Regions from separate parts of the Homo sapiens genome. Here all the other regions are linked to region 1. Evidence: promoter capture Hi-C in 16 types of primary human blood cells and fetal thymus (Javierre and others, 2016). All regions are on one chromosome and are shown on one strand. The core of a region is centred on a gene start or on the middle of the fragment in contact, and the rest is flanking DNA. Distances in the headings are between cores, read along the strand shown. Region 1 holds the start of ZFAND4 (zinc finger AN1-type containing 4). Region 2 overlaps LOC105378283 (a long non-coding RNA gene). Region 3 has its middle 76 kb from the start of MIR3156-1. Region 4 has its middle 44 kb from the start of OR13A1. Region 5 has its middle 28 kb from the start of OR13A1. Region 6 overlaps OR13A1 (olfactory receptor family 13 subfamily A member 1). Region 7 has its middle 11 kb from the start of OR13A1.

Region 1 (2,637 bases), core at 48-2,547:
ATACACCATGGAATACTATGCAGCCATAAAAAAAGGATGAGTTCATGTCCTTTGCATGGACATGGATGAAGCTGGAAACCATCATTCTCAGCAAACTGTCACAAGGACAGAAAACCAAACACCGCCATGTTCTCACTCATAGATGGGAACTCAACAATGAGAACACTTGGACACAGGGAGGGGAACATCACACACTGGGGCCTGTCGTGGGGAGTGAGATGGGGGGAGGGATAGCATTAAGAGAAATACGCAATATAAATGACGAGTTAGTCGGTGCAGAAAACCAACATGGCACATGTATAGCTATGTACCAAACCTGCACGTTGTGCACATGTACCCTAGAACTTAAAAAAAAAAAAAAAATCAATTCCCAAAGCATTTCTCTCATTTCTTCTGAAAAGTTTCTAAAAACACAACTCCAAGGATGAAATGGAAGTTAAAGGTAAACAGGCAATAGCGCTGAATACGTAATTTCAGTAACTCAGAATTTTCTCCAACCTCTGCTCTAAAGAAGCTTAGCTACAGAAGAGCAGTTACCTTTGAAACATTTTCCCCAACATAAAGATATCCGGAATGTGAAGCTGCCATTAAAACTGTGACACAGATCTACATTTACTGATACATCAAAACATCCCTAAAGTTCGAAATACGAGCTACAGAATCACATCAACCGCCTAACTTGTCTGTAGCCTAAACTCTAGTCCGGAGTTCATCTGCAAGCGGAATTGGGAAGTATTTCAGAGCCAGCATCTCCTCGCGCCATCCAGGTACCTACACACTTGAGGCCACCGAGTCACCTGCGCAGCCGTTGCTCCTCCAAGACCAATCCGGGCTCCCCAGACCCACCGGCCTGAATCTGGAGGACAGCAGTCCGCGTGACAACAGCGACTCGGAGATCAGCACCCGTCGGGAAAGCCGCGTACCCGTTGAAGCTGGCGTCACGCCCAAAGGAACAAACGCCAGAGCGTGTGTCCTGGGCAAAGGCGGCCCGCCGCTCCGGTCCCCGGGCAGCAGCGGCCGGCGTCAGGCCGCAAGGCGAGGGGCGGGGACAGGACTCTACCCGGCAGCCCAGCGCCGAGCGCCCGCGCCACTCCGGCCTTGCGCCATTCCGGCCCCACGACGGCCGGCGGCGGCAGCGCGGCTGGGCTCAGCGGCTCGCAGCCCGGGCGCCCCCCCTGCCGGCCGCTCGCTAGCTCAGCCTCACCCGCAGTCTTGTCCGCTGGCTCGCTCGCCCGCCTACAGGTCGACAGGGCCCAACGACCCGGCGAGCAACTTCACGGAAGGCACTGGCCGACAACGCTCCGCTGCCGCCGCGCCCCGCCCCTTTGTGACACCACCTACCAATCGCTGGACGGCGCTTTCGCTGCCCTCCAATCAGCGCGGGCGGGGGCAGGCCTGGCCCCCGGACGTGGGCGGTTGCCGGGGCGCCAGGGCCCTGGGGCCTTCTTGGCATTCGCTGGAGGTTGTGAGTTACGAGGCCCGGATGTTGATCTTTTATTACTAGCAACACTGGACCCCTGACTCGTGCCCACGCGGGCGTCTGGAGGGCAGCCGCATGGCCTGCTGGGAACGGCGGGGTTGAAGCCGGAGCCGCCCTCCGTGAGACCCACCGGGGATCCTCTTCCAGGCGCCTGATTTGCTGGAGATAGGCGATACAGGCAGACGCTGTCCAGTCGGTGGCCTCTCCAGAGTGAGGGGCGCTCCTGGTGCGTTTGGGCCGGCCTGTCCTAACAAATCTGCTTTAGGCTTCACCGTCCCCTAATGTTTCTGGCCTCAATTGCCTCATCTGGAAAATGGGGGCATTACCGTGCCTGCTTGAAGACAAAGGCGAAAACAGATAACTTTCTGTAGTCCTCATACAATTTACTGAGAACTGTAGGCCAGGCAATGGAGTAGGCACCCTGGGCTCAAATCCCAGCGTTGGGTAAGCCCAGCCACACCTCCTGCTCCAGTTTCCAAGCTGCTGAGCTGCGGTGTAAACAGTAACTGGCTTCAAGCCAACACCTGCCTTTCAACCTAACATGGGAGCCCACTGCCTCGTTCCGTTCCCCCTACCGATTTTCCAACTCCGTGAACCTCCTTCACTAAGTGGGTTACTCAGCTGACAAAGAATGTCATCTCACTCCCACTGCGGGTTCACTCATCCTCGACTTCTGGCTCAGAGGAGCCAGTCTAATATGAAACTAAACATCTAATCTGTGTCTCCTGTCCTCTCTCATTCTTCTGAGACCCTACCCACCAACTTATCTCCACAGTTCAACGAACTATTGAGCATACACTGGGGGAGTATGGTGAGGCACTGGGCATTGATTCACCAGTCTCGCCGTTGGTTCCTTCTGAAACTCCACATATGCTTAATGCTAAATAGATTGGAGACCTTTGAGGACAGAGCTATGATGGTAATCATCTTTGCATTCCTGAGCCTAGAATAGGGCCTGTGATGGAGACTTACTGAGTAAAAACCTTAGCGTTTCTCACCCTTGCCTGCCCACTTCATTCACACTGGAGAATTGACAGCATGGACCGTGGAGTCAGGCAGGTGTGTTTAAAGCCTTGCCTCCCAATACCAGAAGCTCCATTACCTGGCCAAGTCATTCATTCTTTACAACATCATCATCATTATCATCTGCCATTCTT
Region 2 (2,637 bases), core at 54-2,553, 460 kb before region 1:
GAATGCAAAATAGTACAGCCACTTGAGATGACAGTTTGATAGTTTCTTCCAAAGCTAAACATAGTCTTATCACATGATCCAGTAATCACATTCCTAGGTATTCACCCAAAATCTGCACAAGAATGTTTACAACAGCTTTATTCATAATTGTCCAAATTTAAAAGCTGCCAAAATGTCATCCAACAGGTGAATGGATAAGCACAGTGTGGTACATCCAGACAACTGAGTATTATTCACTGCTAAAAAGAAATGAGTTATCAAACCACAAAAGGCATGGAGGAATCTTAAATGCATATTGCTAAGCAAAAGTAGCCAATCTGTAAAGACCTTATACTGTATGATTCCAACTATATGACATTCTGGAAAGGGTAAAATTATAGAGACAAAGGCAAACTGTAATATTTCAGTGGTTGTCTGAGATTTAGGAGGTAGATAATGAGGGAGAGGGGATGAAGAGGTAGAGCTGAGAGGATTTTTAGGGCAGTGAAACTGTTCCATATGATACTGTAATGGTGAATACATGATGTTAATTTGTCAAAACCCATAAAACTATACTATATAGAGTGAATCTTGATGTTAGCTATAAACTTTAGTTAATAATAATGCATCAACAGCCAGGCCAACATGGTGAAACCCCGTCTCTACTAAAAATCAAAAAAAAAAATGAGCTGGGCGTGATAGCGCATACCTGTAATCCCAGCTACTTGGGAGGCTGAGGCAGGAGAATCACTGGAACCTGGGAGGCAGAAGTTGTAGTGAGCCGAGATCGCACCATTGCGCTCCAGCCTGGGTGACAGAGCGAGACGCTGTTTCAAAAATAAAAATAAAAACAATAATGCATCAATATTGGTTCAGCAATCATAGCAAATGTAACACACCAATGCAAGATGTTAATATGGAAAACTAGGAAGGGGAGATGGAGGAGAGATGTGAATCTGTACTTCCTGCTCCAGTTCTCTGTAAATCAAAAAGTGCTCTTAAAAAAAAAGCCTATTTTTTTTCAAAGAGGGAGAATGAAGATAGCATATGCATAAAACAATTGTTTTTAGCAATACTGACATTAGTAAAATTAGTATTGTTAATTGTGTGTTGGGTACCAAACACGTGATTGTGAGATGTTCTAATTCTATCATCACCAAAATCTGTGAGAGGCAGGGTTCTGAGAGGAAGGGAGAAGGCCCAGATGAGGCATAGAAGGAGTTAAATAAAAGCTTTGCAGTCTGTTATGTATTTCCATTGGAACTACCAGTATAAGCTCACGATGCTGGCAGTCTCATGACTTAAAGGGAGAGTGATTGGGAAGAGCAGGAGCTCCCAACCTACTAACGTTTCTTGCTTTGAAAATCTGTCAACTTGTACTGTCATATATGCACTTATCTATGTGAATACTTCAGTAAAGCTTTTTGGAGTAGGATTTTTTAAAAACTATGTGTAAGTATTTTCAGAAGATGAAGGTTCCTGTTTCCTTGGTTCAAATGGTATCAAGATAGGTAGGTTGCGTCCCTGAATGCATTCCTAAATTGATACAGAATCATTAGCCCAGACAGGGTAGCTACCATAGCTTCTAGAACATGACCAGATGGCCACAGGCACTCAGCGTGCTCGCTGAATTAGCTGTTCATCTTCTTCTCTTCCACAGGGTATGTGTATATGACTGTCAGAAATGAGTAAGGCGAAACAGGATAAGCTAAGAACACTGCTTCTGAAGTCTGCTGGTGTGGGTTCAAATCTGGGCTCTACCACTTATTTTCTGGGTGACTTTGAGCAAGTTAATGAAGCTCTCTAAATCTGTTTCCTTACCTATTAGATAATAACAATTAAACTGTGAGGTTTGAAAGATTAATCCATACAGAGGGCTTAGCACAATGCCTGGGACATAGTAAATGTGTGTGTGTATTAATACACCCCATGCATATATGGCATGTTATTTCGATCATATTATCTATTATTTTCATCCTCCTAACAAAGGGTGAACAACTTTATAGAATACAAATATATAATAAATCATATAGGTATCTTTGACACGGCCTAAAGACTTAAGCACTTACAGCTGTTTTATTATTTGTTCATTTATTTTGAAACAGAGTCTCACTCTTGTCACCCAGGTTGGAGTGAAATGGCGTGATCTTAGCTCACTGTAGCCTCCATCTCTCGGGTTCAAGTGATTCTCCTGTCTCAGCCTCCCAAGCAGCTCGGATTACAGGCATGGGCCATCATGCACAGCTAATTCTCATATTATTAGTAGAGACGGGGTTTCACCATGTTGGTCAGGGTGGTCTCAAACTCCTGACCTCAGGTGATCCACCCACCTTGGCCTCCCAAAGGGCTGGGATTGCAGGTGTGAGCCACTGCACCCGGCCTCACTTACAGCTGTTAAGAAAACCAAGTTACATAGACTACCATTCAAATATTGAGATTGCAAACCATATTACCATTCTCTGGTCTGCACTATGTCCTGAAAAACCATGAGGCCAAACCCCCGTTGCAAGTAATTGCCCGTTCTGATGTGTGCCTTTCATTTGACCTCACCCTTAAAATTATAAGCTACACAGAGTCCAAAGGAATAATTAATGTATATGCAGAGAAATAGATGAAATAAAAAGGATATTTATGAGGTATGGGTACTATAACTAAAAC
Region 3 (2,637 bases), core at 63-2,562, 430 kb before region 1:
AGACAGGGTTTGGCAGCAGAGTACTTGCCAAGTAATGGTGAATTGCTGTTACTTCCATTTCTCACCTTTAGGAAGGAGTCATTCATTATTAAACTTACACTTTCTTCTCCAATGTATATACATTACACTGTGAGACAATTTGAATGATGACACTTTTTGGAAAAGCTTTGTCTTTTTATATACATAAGAATGAAGGGTTTTCTGAAAATACATGCAGAAGTCATCTTCACTTGCAAAGGGGAAAAATGTTCCATGTGTAGATCAAAAAACATTTGTATTTGGATTCAGAAATATCTGTTAACCTGTAGCAATTAAAACATCAGGCTGCTTTTTTATATAATAGTTTTTGCTATGATCCTGCAGCCTTTGCTTTTGGGGAAACATTTGGAAGAATGTAGGTAAAGTGAATTTTTAAAGGGTGGGGATGGGTGGGGGCAATGTTGCCTGCCCTGTTTCCAGTCAACTATTATACATTTTTCATAGTGTGTGTGTGTGTGTGTATGAGTGCGCGCGCACACGGGTTTCCCATTGAAAATTACTTGGCTGTAAAGGGGCTACGAAGAAAATACAATGCAAAGTATAATAAAGTTCAGAACAAAAGGAATTTCTGTATGGGTGAAGGACAGAATTATAAATCTATACAACTTCTGACTGTTGTTAAACGTGTTTTAAAAACACATTCCGAGGCCTTGTTGCTTTTTTGTTTCAACTCCTCATTTTTGAATAGACACATATAAAAACAGGAAATGAGTTGGTGTTTTGAGGGAAGAGAGAACCACACTGTGAATTCAACCATTTTCTGTCCCCCAGCCTGGCTCCTACCCTGCATTCACAACTAGACCTGCTTCCAGGAGGGCTCTCGACGCTTCTAAAGGAAACGTTACACAGGCAATGTATGTTGGAACCAGCCTGACATGTAGAAATGCTGATTTTACTGATCCATGTATTCAAAACACTGGAAGTTCCTCTCTTCCCTTTGTAATTCCATGATTTAAAATTTGGTTAATTGCTGGTATCTTAAGTCACAGAGTTAAGACAGTCTAATCTTGCTGGGCTGTGTTGATCAGGTGAGATTCCTTTTAGGTCTATGTAGTAGCCCATGGGAGAGACTAATGCCTTTCTAGTGCTTCAGGGATTATTCTGCTAAGTGTTTAAATAAAGTAGACTTGCCATGACAGAGTAGCCAGTTATCCACTAGTAGATAGGAGGGCTGCCATATTTAAGACCTTCCAGCACCATACCCTTGAGTTTGGGTGTTTTCACCCAGGGGTCCTCTTTTAAAATGGCGTTGCTCTGAGAGGAGCAGTGAGATACTAATTTTCACGGACACTGCCAACAACTTGTCTTATTCACTTTCGTCTCCTAGGAGGAATGGGGCCACCGAGAGCAGCGGGCATCCCTGCGACATCAGAGGATCCTGGAAGGGGAGGTGAAGGCATGAAAACAATCGCAGATTCCAGGCATGGTCTAGAGCTCGGCCCTCACTTGGTAGTAACACAGAATCCTCAGTCAGACATTTCTGTTCCTACGGCAGTTCACAAGAATGGAATGCTGAGGCTTCCTGGTCCAGCTGCCAATAAACTATGCCCACAGTCTTCCCACCGAGAGCCAGACGGAGCTACATTTTACAGGCCTAAGCTGTGGTTTCCTTTCTTTGCTTATGGGACAGGAAGTTTCAGATCCATTCTACGGAGTAATGAAGGACAGCGAGGAGGAAGAGTTCTTACTGTCCATGGCTGGAAAGCAAGGCTTTGCTTCCCAGCATCTATCAGGCAAATGGCAAATGTTGACTCTGATCAATAATGGTCCATTCAAGCTGGAGTGAGTTAAGAGTTAGTTGCACTGTGACTCCAACCTAACGGGATTATTCCATCTTTCATCCAGATCCCACTCTCCTCATTCTTTCTGCTTTACACTTCATATAAATATATGGATCTCCGTGGTGGGGGAGGTACGTAGGTCCAAGTTGAGTAACCTGACCGGCACAAAGAATACTGTATTTGTCTCTTCGTTTCCTCCCTGCTACATACATCTTTTGGTTTCCTGTCATGGGAATATTCCTTTAGAAAAGGCATGAGCTTCCTCTGAGTGTTATTTATGAAACTACATGTTAAGGCTATTGATTAATAAAGGATTTAGATGAATTCCAAAGGGGAGAGCTTTCCAGGATGATAAAACTGCATCAAGAATCATGTTGAAGCTAAACCCATAGGCAAAGACCATGTGCCAGAACACCCTTCCTCACCAGGCCGGGCAGAAGGTGACAGCAGCCCTAGAAGCCAAATCAGATGAGGTGGGTTGCAGGTGAGAAAAGATGTTTTGTTGGGAACAAAGGCTGCAGCTACCAAGAAACTAGCAGCTGAACAGAAGCCCACTGGAAAGAATCCTCCCACAGAAGGAAAGAAGCCTGCTGCATACACCAGTACATTTGTTTATGCTACAAAGATCAAATCATCTTGGGAAGCTTATTTTGAATGAAGACCTGATCAAAGAGGCAGTGAGAAAAAAAAATAAAACAAAAAATACGACTCCAGATCAGGTGTAGAGGAACAAGCAAACTTTTTGGAAACCTTACTGAAGCCTCTTGTATGGTGAAACAAAGCCAGTTTAGAGAGCATCGGGATGAGGTTTAGATTT
Region 4 (2,637 bases), core at 95-2,594, 400 kb before region 1:
AGCGAAATCATGAGTGAACTCCCATTCACATTTACTACAAAGAGAATAAAATACCTAGGATTCCAACTTACAAGGGATGTGAAGGACCTCTTCAAGGAGAACTACAAATCACTGCTCAATGAAATAAAAGAGGACACAAACAAATGGAAGAACACTCCATGCTCATGGGTAGGAAGAATCAATATCATAAAAATGGCCATACTGCCCAAGGTAATTTATAGATTCAGTGCTATCCCCATCAAGCTACCACAGACTTTCTTCACAGAATTGGAAAAAAAAAAAACACTTAAAAGTTCATATGGAACCAAAAAAGAACCCACATAGCCAAGACAATCCTAATCAAAAAGAACAAAGCTGGAGGCATCACGCTACCTGACTTCAAACTATACTACAAGGCTACAGTAACCAAAACAGCATGGTACCGGTAGAAAAACAGATATATAGACCAATGGAACAGAACAGAGGCCTCAGAAATAACACCACACATCTACAACCATCTGATCTTTGACAAACCTGACAAAAACAAGAAATGGGGAAAGGATTTCCTATTTAGTAAATGGTGCTGGGAAAACTGGCTAGCCATATGTAGAAAGCTGGAACTCAATGCTTTCTTTACACCATATACAAAAATTAACTCAAGATAGATTAAAGACTTAACTTTAAGACTTAACACTGTAAAAACCCTAGAAGAAAACCTAGGCAATACCATTCAGGACATAGGCATGGGCAAAGACTTCATGACTAAAACACCAAAAGCAATGGGAACAAAAGCCAAAATAGATGAATGGGATCTAACCAAACTAAAGAGCTTCTGCACAGCAAAAGAAACTACCATCAGAGTGAACAGGCAACTTACAGAATGGGAGAAAATCTTTGCAATCTACTCATCTGACAAAGGGCTAATATCCAGAATCTACAGAGAACTTAAATTTACAAGAAAAAAACAACCCCATCAAAAAGTGGGCAAAGAATATGAACAGACACTTCTCAGGAGAAGATATTTATGCAGCCAGCAGACGTATGAAAAAAGTGCTTATCATCACTGGTCATCAGAGAAATGCAAATCAAAACCACAATGAGATACCATCTCAGGCCAATTAGAATGGCAATCATTAAAAAGTGAGCAAACAACAGATGCTGGACAGGATGTGGAGAAATAGGAATGCCTTTACAATGTTGGTGGGTGTGTAAACTAGTTCAACCATTGTGGAAGACAGTGTGGTGATTCCTCAAGGATCTAGAACTAGAAATACCATTTGACCTAGCAATCCCATTACTGGGTATATACCCAAAGGATTATAAATCATGCAACTATAAAGACACATGCACATGTATGTTTATTGTGGCACTATACACAATAGCAAAGACTTGGAACCAACCCAAATGCCAATCAATGATAGAGTGGATAAAGCAAATGTGGCACATATACACTATGGAATAGTATGCAGCCATAGAAAAGGATGAGTTCATGTCCTTTGCAGGGACATGGATGAAGCTGGAAACTATCATTCTAAGCATATTGTCACAAGGACAGAAAACCAAACACCACATGTACTCACTCATAGGTGGGAGTTGAACAATGAGAACACATGGACACAGGGCAGGGAAAATCACACACTGGGGCCAGTCAAGGGGTGGTGGGCTGGGGGAGGGATAGCATTAGGAGAAATACCTAATGTAAATGACGAGTTGATGGGTGCAGCAAACCAACATGGCACATGTATACCTATGTAACAAACCTGCACGTTGTGCACATGTATCCTAGAACTTAAAGTATAATAAAATAAATAAATAAATAAATATAAAAAAGAGAAGCCCAGGACCTGATGGCTTCACAGTCGAATTCTACCAAACATTTAAAGAAGAACAAATACCAATCCTATTCAAACTATTTCAAAAAATATAGAGGAGGAAGGAATACTTCCACACTCATTCTACCAGGCCAGTATTACCTTGATATGAAACCAGACAAAAATGCATCAAAAAAAGAGAGAAAAGTACAGCCAATATGTCTGATGAATATTGATGCAAAAATCCTCAACAAAATACTAGCAAACTGAATTCAACAGCACATTAAAAAGATCTTTTCTCATGATGAAGTAGTATTTATCTCAGGGATACAAGGATGGTTCAAAATATGCAAATCAATTAATGTGACACATCATATTAACAGAATGGAGGACAAAAACATATGATCATGTCAATTGATGCTGAAAAGGATTTGATAAAATTTTAACATCCTTCATGATAAAAACCCTTTAAAAAACTGTCTATATAAGGAATATACCTTAACATAATAAAAGCCATAAATAACAGACACCCACAGGGTAGTATCATACTAAATGAGGAAAAACTGAAAATTTGTCTTCTAAGATGCAGACCAAGACAAGGCTGCCCACTGTCACAACCGTTATTCAACATATTACTGAAAGTCCTAGCTAGAGCAATCAGACAAGAGAAAGATATAAAGGGCATCCAAATTGGTGCTAGAGCAATTGTACTTTTATAGGCACACTCACACACACACATAAACACACACACACACATACACACATACATACACAAAAAAGAACTTCACCTGTCTCATATTTTATACAAAAGCTAACTCAAAAATAGTTTATGTTCTTAAATGTACAA
Region 5 (2,637 bases), core at 35-2,534, 390 kb before region 1:
CTGTTCACAGTCTGTAAAATTAGATGGTCCACAAGTTGGAAAATGAGAGCTGTCCAGCCTGGTGTTACATTCATTCAATTAATGCAAAAACAGAAAGGGAGAGATGTTGGGAGCCAAGAGCCTGAGGGTCATGACCAACTCAGCATTCCACTGGAGGCTATATGATCAAACAGCAAACTGTTTATCATGAATGCAGGATGTGGGCAAACTCACATCTGCACCTGCTGCCAGAAGGTATGCTGAGGGCAATCACTCCCTGGTGCTGTGCTCCTGGGTGCCATGCCCCTTAAAGTTATCTACTGGAACATCTAGAGCCTACTGTTCTAAGAAGGCAGTCATGCAGGCCTGCACTAAATCAAGCAGCTGACCAACAACTGCCCCCTGCTCCATATCTCTTTTACTCAATAAATATGAAGGGCTCTAGAAGCCCAGGGCACTTATTCACTAGAAGCAAGGAGCCCCCTGACCCCTTCATCCAAACATACTCTTTTGTCTTTGTCTTTATTCCTGCATTCATCCTCCTTTGTTCAGTCCACCAGGGTCTGCAGCACCTGAGGGCTTTGAGGGCTCACTGCAGGGTAGCCCCAGCCTGAGCCTTGAAGTCCCCTTCAGATTAATTGTCCTCCCCACACAAATTGCTCAAAAATTGCTCAAAAAAAGGAGACAAGATGGGGTGGGTGCAGTGGGATGAGCAGCTGCTGTCCACTGCTTCCTGGGTTGCAACACAGCCTCTACCCCCAACACCCATCCCAGGTTTCAGCACCAAATGTAAGAGTTAAAGAAAGAGGAAAGAAACACAAAAAGTGGCTCAACAGTCAAAGACAGGTTTATTTTGGAGAATAAACCTGAGAGGGCCTTCTGACCGATTTCAGTCAGGAACACTCTCTCTTACAGACTAAGAGTATTTATTGGTTTTAGGGTGAGGAGAAGTCTATTGTGGGATTGGAATATCTCTGGTTGGAGAGGAGGTTATCTCAGGGCTGACATCTCTCCAGCCAGAGGGGAGGTTATCTCAGGGCTGGCATGTCTCTGGTCTGGGAGGAGTTTACCTTATGGTTGGAATGTTTCTGGTCAGAGATGTCATTTGTGGTTTATGGTCATGCTGACCTTAGCCATTAGGCTGATGCTTTTTGGATTTAGGCAGTTTTTAATCAAGGTGAACTTTAAAATGGTGGTGCTTGTCCAAGATGGTGATGCTCCTGCTCTGTTATCCATCACAACTGTTTCAGTACTGACTGAGTGGTTAAGTTAAATATAAAAAGCTAAAAAAGCCAGTGCCCTTATACAAAGGCTGGAATGTAGCAAAAGTCCATCAAGAGTTTTGCCTAGGCCTTTCCTGGGCCTTAAAGCATGATAAAGTAACAAAGAAATTCTTAGCAGGACCCCCTTAGGATTAAACAAGTTTTATTAGGGGTCTGAAGAAACTCCACAGGCTTCCACAATCAAGTTTATTGGAGGTCTGAAGTAACTTCCCAAACCCCCGTGATTTAGCAAGAGACAAGATAAGGGTAATCACCCGAGCACCTAGACCCATTTAGATTAAGTAAACTTAATGAGGCTGTAGAAGAAGGTCTTCAGGATGACCTTCAGCCATGAAAAGAACATGCCACAGGTAGCCTCAGATCTAAGCATGAAAAGACACATGGAACACTTACATGTAGACATATAGCTTGGAAGGTATATAGCTCTGAAAAACTTTGTAATTTTGAGTTGGTCTGGTGAAAATTTCTGGGCCTTCTCCCTGTAACTGGTTGCAAAAAATAAAACTCTCTTCCTCCCGAGTTCATCTGCATCTCATTATTGGCAGCAGGAAATAGCAGCCCAACCCTCAGTTTGGTCCAGGAACACTCCTGCCTTAGCGTCCCGAGTAGCTGGGATTAAAGGCATGTGCCCAGCTCACTGCTACACTCCCACTAGTGCCATGACAGTTTACAATGTAGGGATGTAAACTGTCATGGCACTAGTGGGAGTGTAGCAGTGAGGACAACCAGAGGTCACTATCATCGCCATCTTGGTTTTGGTGGGATTTAGCCAGCTTCTTTACTGCAAGTTTTATTAGCAAGCTCATTATGAGCTGTATCTTTGTGCTAGCCTCCTATCTTATCCTGTGTCTTAGAATGCCTAATTATCTGGGAATGCAGCCTATAGGTTTTAGCCTTATTTTACCCAGCTGCTACTCAAGATGGAGTTGCTCTGGTTCAAATGCTTCTAACAAACTCAAGCATTTTTTTATGCTGAATTCAATTCTTAAAGCAGAGCTTAACTCTTTCAACCAACTGCCTGTCAGAGAATCTTTGAATCCACTTATGACCATGAATCTCCACCCTCTTTGCTTCAAGATGTCTCACCTTTCTGGGCCAAACCAACATATACCTTATGTATATTGATTTATGTCTTTGCCTGTAACTTCTCTCTCCCTAAAATGTATAAAACCAAGCTGTAACCCAACTACTTTAGGCACATGTTTTTAGGACTTCCTGAGGCTGTGCATGGGTCAAGGTCTTTAATCTTGGCCAAATAAACCTCTAAATTGATTGAGTCCTATCTCAGATACTTTTTGGTTTACAAGGGTTATTGTGGCAGATTAGACTATTGCTCCCAATTCTTTGCTCCTTCCCTGTAACAATTACACAGCCA
Region 6 (2,637 bases), core at 1-2,500, 370 kb before region 1:
GGTTTCTGGGACTATCAGGTGACTCTCCATCCACAGCTTCATGTGATTTCAGAGCTAGAGAGATAAACAAGAGGTGTCCTGAGGAAGGCTGCTCCCGTGTTTCTTCCACACCTCACATCACTGCATGAAAGATAGAGATGCATTAGGGCATATTGATTAAGATAAACACCCCAATATTACAGTAGAAAAAAGGCGTGAACACTCAGTTTATAAAAAATAAATACAGTTGGCCAGTTAAACTCATGAAGCATCATTCAACCTCAAACAAATGCAAATTAAATCCATGATCTAGTCTTCATCATCCATGATCTGGCAAAGTTAGAAAAGCATGATATTAACTAGCATTAGAATGGCTGCAAAGATGCAGGCCTTTTAAAATATGTATTCCATTTGAGCCGGAACTTCCTCTTCCAGAAATGTATCCTAAGGAATAATAAAAAGCATCCTGAAGGTGTCAGAGCAGCACTATTTATAATAGTGGAAATTTAAAACAATCTATACCCTTAAACGTGAGTATATTATGGTAAATTGATATAAATGCTGTCTAATTATCAAAGTAATGCTTTGGAAGTGTTTTACTGATGCTTTTAAAAGGAGAATGACACTTTGGGAGGCCGAGGCAGGCAGATCACTTGAAGCCAGGAATTCAAGACCAGCCTGTCCAAAATGGTGAAACCCCATTCTCTACTAAAAATACAAAAATTAACCTGACACGGTGGTGGTGGATGTCTGTAATCCCAGCTACTTGGAAGGCTGAGGCAGGAGAATCGCTTGAACCTGGGAGGCAAGGTTTCGGTGAGCTGAGACCACGATGCTGCACTCTAGCCTGGGCGACAGAGTGAGACTGTCTCAAAAAAAATTGTTTTAATTTTAAAAAAAGGAAAGAATGAAAAAAAATTTAAAATAATGTGTACAATAGGATCTCATTTTTAAAAAAAAAATTAAAAAAGCAGATTTGTTTCCACTGATATTGAGGATAGTGAAAAATTTAAAATAAAAATAAAATGTAAAAGCATGTTTGTATATGCACCTGTAGGAAAAACACTGGTGAGTGCTAGACCAGAGCTTGAACAGTGATTGTTTTCACTTTTTAAATTTTTGCTGGTCTGTATTTTCTACTTTTTCTATAAAATGACCTCTCTAAAAGGCAGATGTATCACACAGAATCCTCCTTACAACAGTTCTTCCATGGCTTCCCATTGCCAAAAGAATAAATGCTCCCAGCAACTTTTCCTGGATCCACCTCCTCTCCAGCCTTTCTTCCCACTCATCTTAAAGCCAGAACTCCAGCCATGCCCTGCACTCACAGACTGGCTGATGCACCAAGCCATTCCAGGATTTCTTGGTTTTGTTCTTCCCACTCCCTGAGCCAGGAATGCCCTTTTTCTCATGAACCAGGGACATAATCAGCCCCCTCTTTCTGAGCATCCCTTCCCTGGGGAGAAAGTACCACTCTTTCCTTTGTGTTTCCTCTGATACTGACTTCTATCCTAGTACACAATACACGTCACTCCTTGATCAGGTTACTGGACTGTGCCCTAAAAGATTAACACATATGCCCGTTTATCTCTGGACATCCCTTCTTGGCACCCAGCCCCCTGCCTAGCAGGCAGTGTGTAGACACTCAAATATGTGTGTTTAAATAATGCTAAAGAATAGGCTAGTATGAATAACAGCAGAATGACTTATATTCTTAAGTTACTGCACATTCTGTACAGCTCAAGATAAAATCAGCATAGTGCACATTTGGTTTTTCCCTTTCAACTCTTTATTCATTAAAAGTTAAGGAAGAGGCTGGGCGTGGTGACTCACGCCTGTAATCCCAGCACTTTGGGAGGCCGTGGAGGGTGGATCAGAAGGTCAGGAGATCGAGACCTTCCTGGCTAACACGGTGAAACCCCGTCTCTACTAAAAATACAAAAATTAGCCGGGCGTGGTGGCGGGCGCCTGTAGTCCTAGCTACTCTGGAGGCTGAGGCAGGAGAATGGCGTGAACCCGGGAGGCGGAGCTTGCAGTGAGCCGAGATCGCGCCACTGCACTCCAGCCTGGGTGACAGAGCGAGACTCCGTCTCAAAAAAAAAAAAAAAAGTTAACGAAGATATTCATTTTAAAAATGAACATTTGGAAGATGTTTGTTTTAAAAATGAACATTTGGAAGATGTCCATTTTAAATATGTTCATTTTAATTATGTTTTTGTCAAGATTCAAGAAATGTATTTACCACTAAAATATTAAAAGGTTTACACAAAATGACCAAACATCATCTCCAGCTCAGGTCATATCACCTTTTAATAAGGTAAAAACTGTTTTTTGAATAGGCAAGCATAAAATCCCTATGACTCAGAGCAATAAGGCTATATTAGCGTGGGGTATGATCAGAATCAATGGAAATGATGGTGTTCCATCTGTGTATCTTCCCAGCAACAAGGTGTCAGAACAGCTCAATAACTTGAGTGGAAGTAATAAATACAATATGCTTTAGCTGATTTCATTATTGTTTGGGACAAAAAGAGTGAATAATTACTTTCGCTGAGTTTGAGTTGTGGATCTGAAGAAATAACTGTAACTTTATTTGCTCTTATGATGGCCCAGTGAGTGACTCCTCTTTAACTCCAGGGACAGAATTGGATTTTCTCC
Region 7 (2,637 bases), core at 84-2,583, 350 kb before region 1:
TTAACAAGGCTTTTCTATTGAGGGTTTCAGCTTTTCTGTCTTGCTAAGAAACACCTTCTTTACTCTAGAATGTTAAAAATACTTAGTGTTTTTACATAATACATTTAAGGTCTAATATTTTATACGTAAAAGTATGAATCAGCAGCTCCTCAAAAATTTAACAGAGAATTACCATACTTATTCAGCAATTTCACTTCTGGGTATTACCCAAAGAGTTGAATACAGGAACTCAACATGTTGATGGCAGCAATATTCATGATAGCTAAAATATGGAAGCAACCCAAGTTTCTATTGATGGATAAATGGATAAATAAAAGGTAATATATCTATACAATGCAATATTATTCAGCTTTAAAAAGGAAGGAAATTCTGACACATGCCACAACATGAATGAAACTTAAAGACATTAGGCTTAGTGAAATAAGTCAGTCACATATTTTTCTTCCCTCCCACCTCCTCTAAACCATTGAACAAGTATAGACAGTACTATACTGCTCACAAAGGTGGCTTAACAATTAAATTTCTAAAAGACAGTATTTCCTATGAATTTTAGCAAAAAGATATTTACAAAGTGGTATTTTATTACCTCTACATTTAACGTACATCAGGCACTTCTAAACATCTAGATAAACTAGGTGTTTCAAGTAAGGAGTTAATTTGTCCACTATATACACAGCAGTCTCGAATAAACTGCATACATGTAACCATAGTTATAATTTGAAAGAGTCTTCCAAATAAGAACATCCTAGCTTAGAATCCCTCCCATCTCCATCAACTCAGTGCGCAAGAATGCTCAAAGATAGGAAGACAATCTTTCCTAGGAATTTTAAAACAAAATATACAAAATATATTAGTTTACTAACTCTACTTTTGTTATACACTGGCAACCTCTTTAACATCTAAAAAGACTAGATGTTGTAAATTAGGACTCGTTTGTCCTTTATATACACTACATAAACAGATAAGTAAAACAAAATGCACAGACATAAGAGATAATGGTTAATCTTGCCTCACTGTAAACACAGCGGCATAGAGCTCTCTGCACTTTCCCCTCCTTCCTCCTCCCCTGAACCAGGACACAAACACGATGAGTATTACTCAACAGGTAGTTTGGCCATTCCCCTCCAAAAACAACATTTCATATGAATTTTAGCAAAAAGATATTTACAAAATATTATTTTACTACCGCTAATTTTGACATATATTAGGCATTCGGAACACATAGAAAGAATACACAAAAAAGTTTAGCATTGTCAACTATATATACAATAGTGAGGAATAAAATGCACACAAAACAATGGATAGAATATGAAAATGTCTAAATATCACAAGTCTGGTATAGAACCTTCTTTTTCTTCTCAGGCTTTCCAGATCCATGTCCCCTAACCCACTGAACAGATATAGACATATCCCTTACAGAGGTGATCTAACGACTCTATTTTAAAAAGTCATCTCCAAAAAACATCTAATTTGTATGATTTCTTTTTAAACAAATGAGAATTTACAAGATGTGTGATTTTCTAATTCTATCATATGTCAGCAACCTCTTTCCATCTAGAAAGACTGAATGTGGCAAATGTTCTCTTTTATTTTTTTAATCTCTTTTAACTTATTTATTTTTATTTTTCTTATTATACTTTAAATTCTGGGGTACATGTGCAGAATGTGCAGGTTTGTTACATAGATATACATGTGCCATGGTGGTTTGTTGCACCCATCAACCTGTCATCTACATTAGGTATTTCCCCTAATGCTATCCCTCCCCAGCCCCCCATAGCCCAACAGGCCCCAGTGTGTGATACCCCCCCAACCCGTGTCCATGTGTTCTCATTGTTCAACTCCCACTTATGAGTGAGAACATGTGGTGTTTGGTTTTCTGTTCTTGTGTTAGTTTGCTGAGAATGATGGTTTCCACCTTCATCCATGTCTCTGCAAAGGACATGAGCTCATCATTTTTCATGGCTGCATAGTATTCTGTGGTGTATATGTGCCAGATTTTCTTTATCCAGTCTATCATTGATGGGCATTTGGGTTGGTTCCAAGTCTTTGCTATTGTGGTATTTCTAGTTCTAGATTCTTGAGGAATCACCACACTGTCTTCCACAATGGTTGAACTAATTTCCACTCCCACCAACAGTGTAAAAGTGGTCCTATTTCTCCACATGCTCTCTAGTATCTGTTGTTTCTTGACTTTTTAATGATGGCCATTCTAACTGGCATGAAATGGTATCTCATTGTGTTTTTGATTTGCACTTCTCTAATGACCAGTGATGATGAGCTTTTTTTCCTATGCTTGTTGACTGCATAAATGTCTTCTTTTGAGAAGAGTCTTTTCTTATCCTTCACCCACTTTTTGATGGAATTGTTTGTTTTTTCTTGTAAATTTGTTTAAGTTCTTTGTAGATTCTGGATATTAGCCCTTTGTTAGATGGATAGATTGCAAAAATGTTCTCCCATTCTGTTGGTTGCCTGTTCACTCTGATGGTAGTTACTTTCGCTGTGCAGAAGCTCCTTAGTTTAATTAGATCCCATTTGTCAATTTTGGCTTTTGTTGCCATTGCTTTTTGTGTTTTAGTCATGAAGTCTTTGCCCATGCCTATGTCCTGAATGGTATTACCTATGTTTTCTTTTAGGGTT

The links. Contacts are between HindIII fragments. The CHiCAGO score rates a contact against its expected background, and 5 or more counts as called.
Region 2: a fragment that was not itself captured here is called in contact with the fragment with the promoter of ZFAND4 in region 1 in 2 of 17 cell types (M1 macrophages and erythroblasts); the score reaches 6.5 in M1 macrophages.
Region 3: a contact is called between a fragment that was not itself captured here and the fragment with the promoter of ZFAND4 in region 1, in 12 of 17 cell types (M0 macrophages, M1 macrophages, neutrophils and 9 more). The highest score is 19.5, in M0 macrophages.
Region 4: a contact is called between a fragment that was not itself captured here and the fragment with the promoter of ZFAND4 in region 1, in 7 of 17 cell types (total B cells, neutrophils, M2 macrophages and 4 more). The highest score is 8.0, in total B cells.
Region 5: a fragment that was not itself captured here is called in contact with the fragment with the promoter of ZFAND4 in region 1 in 4 of 17 cell types (M2 macrophages, M0 macrophages, M1 macrophages and 1 more); the score reaches 9.2 in M2 macrophages.
Region 6: a fragment that was not itself captured here is called in contact with the fragment with the promoter of ZFAND4 in region 1 in 6 of 17 cell types (M0 macrophages, M2 macrophages, neutrophils and 3 more); the score reaches 14.0 in M0 macrophages.
Region 7: a fragment that was not itself captured here is called in contact with the fragment with the promoter of ZFAND4 in region 1 in 1 of 17 cell types (M1 macrophages); the score reaches 5.1 in M1 macrophages.

Annotation. Positions count from the first base shown.
Region 1 is chr10:45,671,475-45,674,111 of GRCh38, forward strand. It overlaps ZFAND4 (zinc finger AN1-type containing 4), which reads right to left and starts at 1,298. Exons shown (of 10, transcript NM_174890.4): 1 at 776-1,298. RefSeq lists a silencer at 881-1,600. The HindIII fragment of the contact is 4,202 bases long and covers 513-2,637 here.
Region 2 is chr10:45,214,969-45,217,605 of GRCh38, forward strand. It overlaps LOC105378283 (a long non-coding RNA gene), which reads right to left. Exons shown (of 6, transcript XR_001747443.2): 3 at 689-806. Among named protein-coding and RNA genes, the nearest start is that of MIR3156-1, 52 kb to the left of the region's middle. The HindIII fragment of the contact is 188 bases long and covers 1,210-1,397 here.
Region 3 is chr10:45,238,311-45,240,947 of GRCh38, forward strand. It overlaps the pseudogene CUBNP2. Among named protein-coding and RNA genes, the nearest start is that of MIR3156-1, 76 kb to the left of the region's middle. The HindIII fragment of the contact is 2,299 bases long and covers 164-2,462 here.
Region 4 is chr10:45,270,161-45,272,797 of GRCh38, forward strand. No RefSeq gene overlaps it. Among named protein-coding and RNA genes, the nearest start is that of OR13A1, 44 kb to the right of the region's middle. The HindIII fragment of the contact is 3,844 bases long and covers 1-2,637 here.
Region 5 is chr10:45,286,356-45,288,992 of GRCh38, forward strand. No RefSeq gene overlaps it. Among named protein-coding and RNA genes, the nearest start is that of OR13A1, 28 kb to the right of the region's middle. The HindIII fragment of the contact is 3,231 bases long and covers 1-2,637 here.
Region 6 is chr10:45,304,381-45,307,017 of GRCh38, forward strand. It overlaps OR13A1 (olfactory receptor family 13 subfamily A member 1), which reads right to left. Exons shown (of 4, transcript NM_001004297.3): 4 at 1-54. The coding sequence starts at 42. Among named protein-coding and RNA genes, the nearest start is that of OR13A1, 9.9 kb to the right of the region's middle. The HindIII fragment of the contact is 4,346 bases long and covers 1-2,637 here.
Region 7 is chr10:45,325,116-45,327,752 of GRCh38, forward strand. No RefSeq gene overlaps it. Among named protein-coding and RNA genes, the nearest start is that of OR13A1, 11 kb to the left of the region's middle. The HindIII fragment of the contact is 5,116 bases long and covers 1-2,637 here.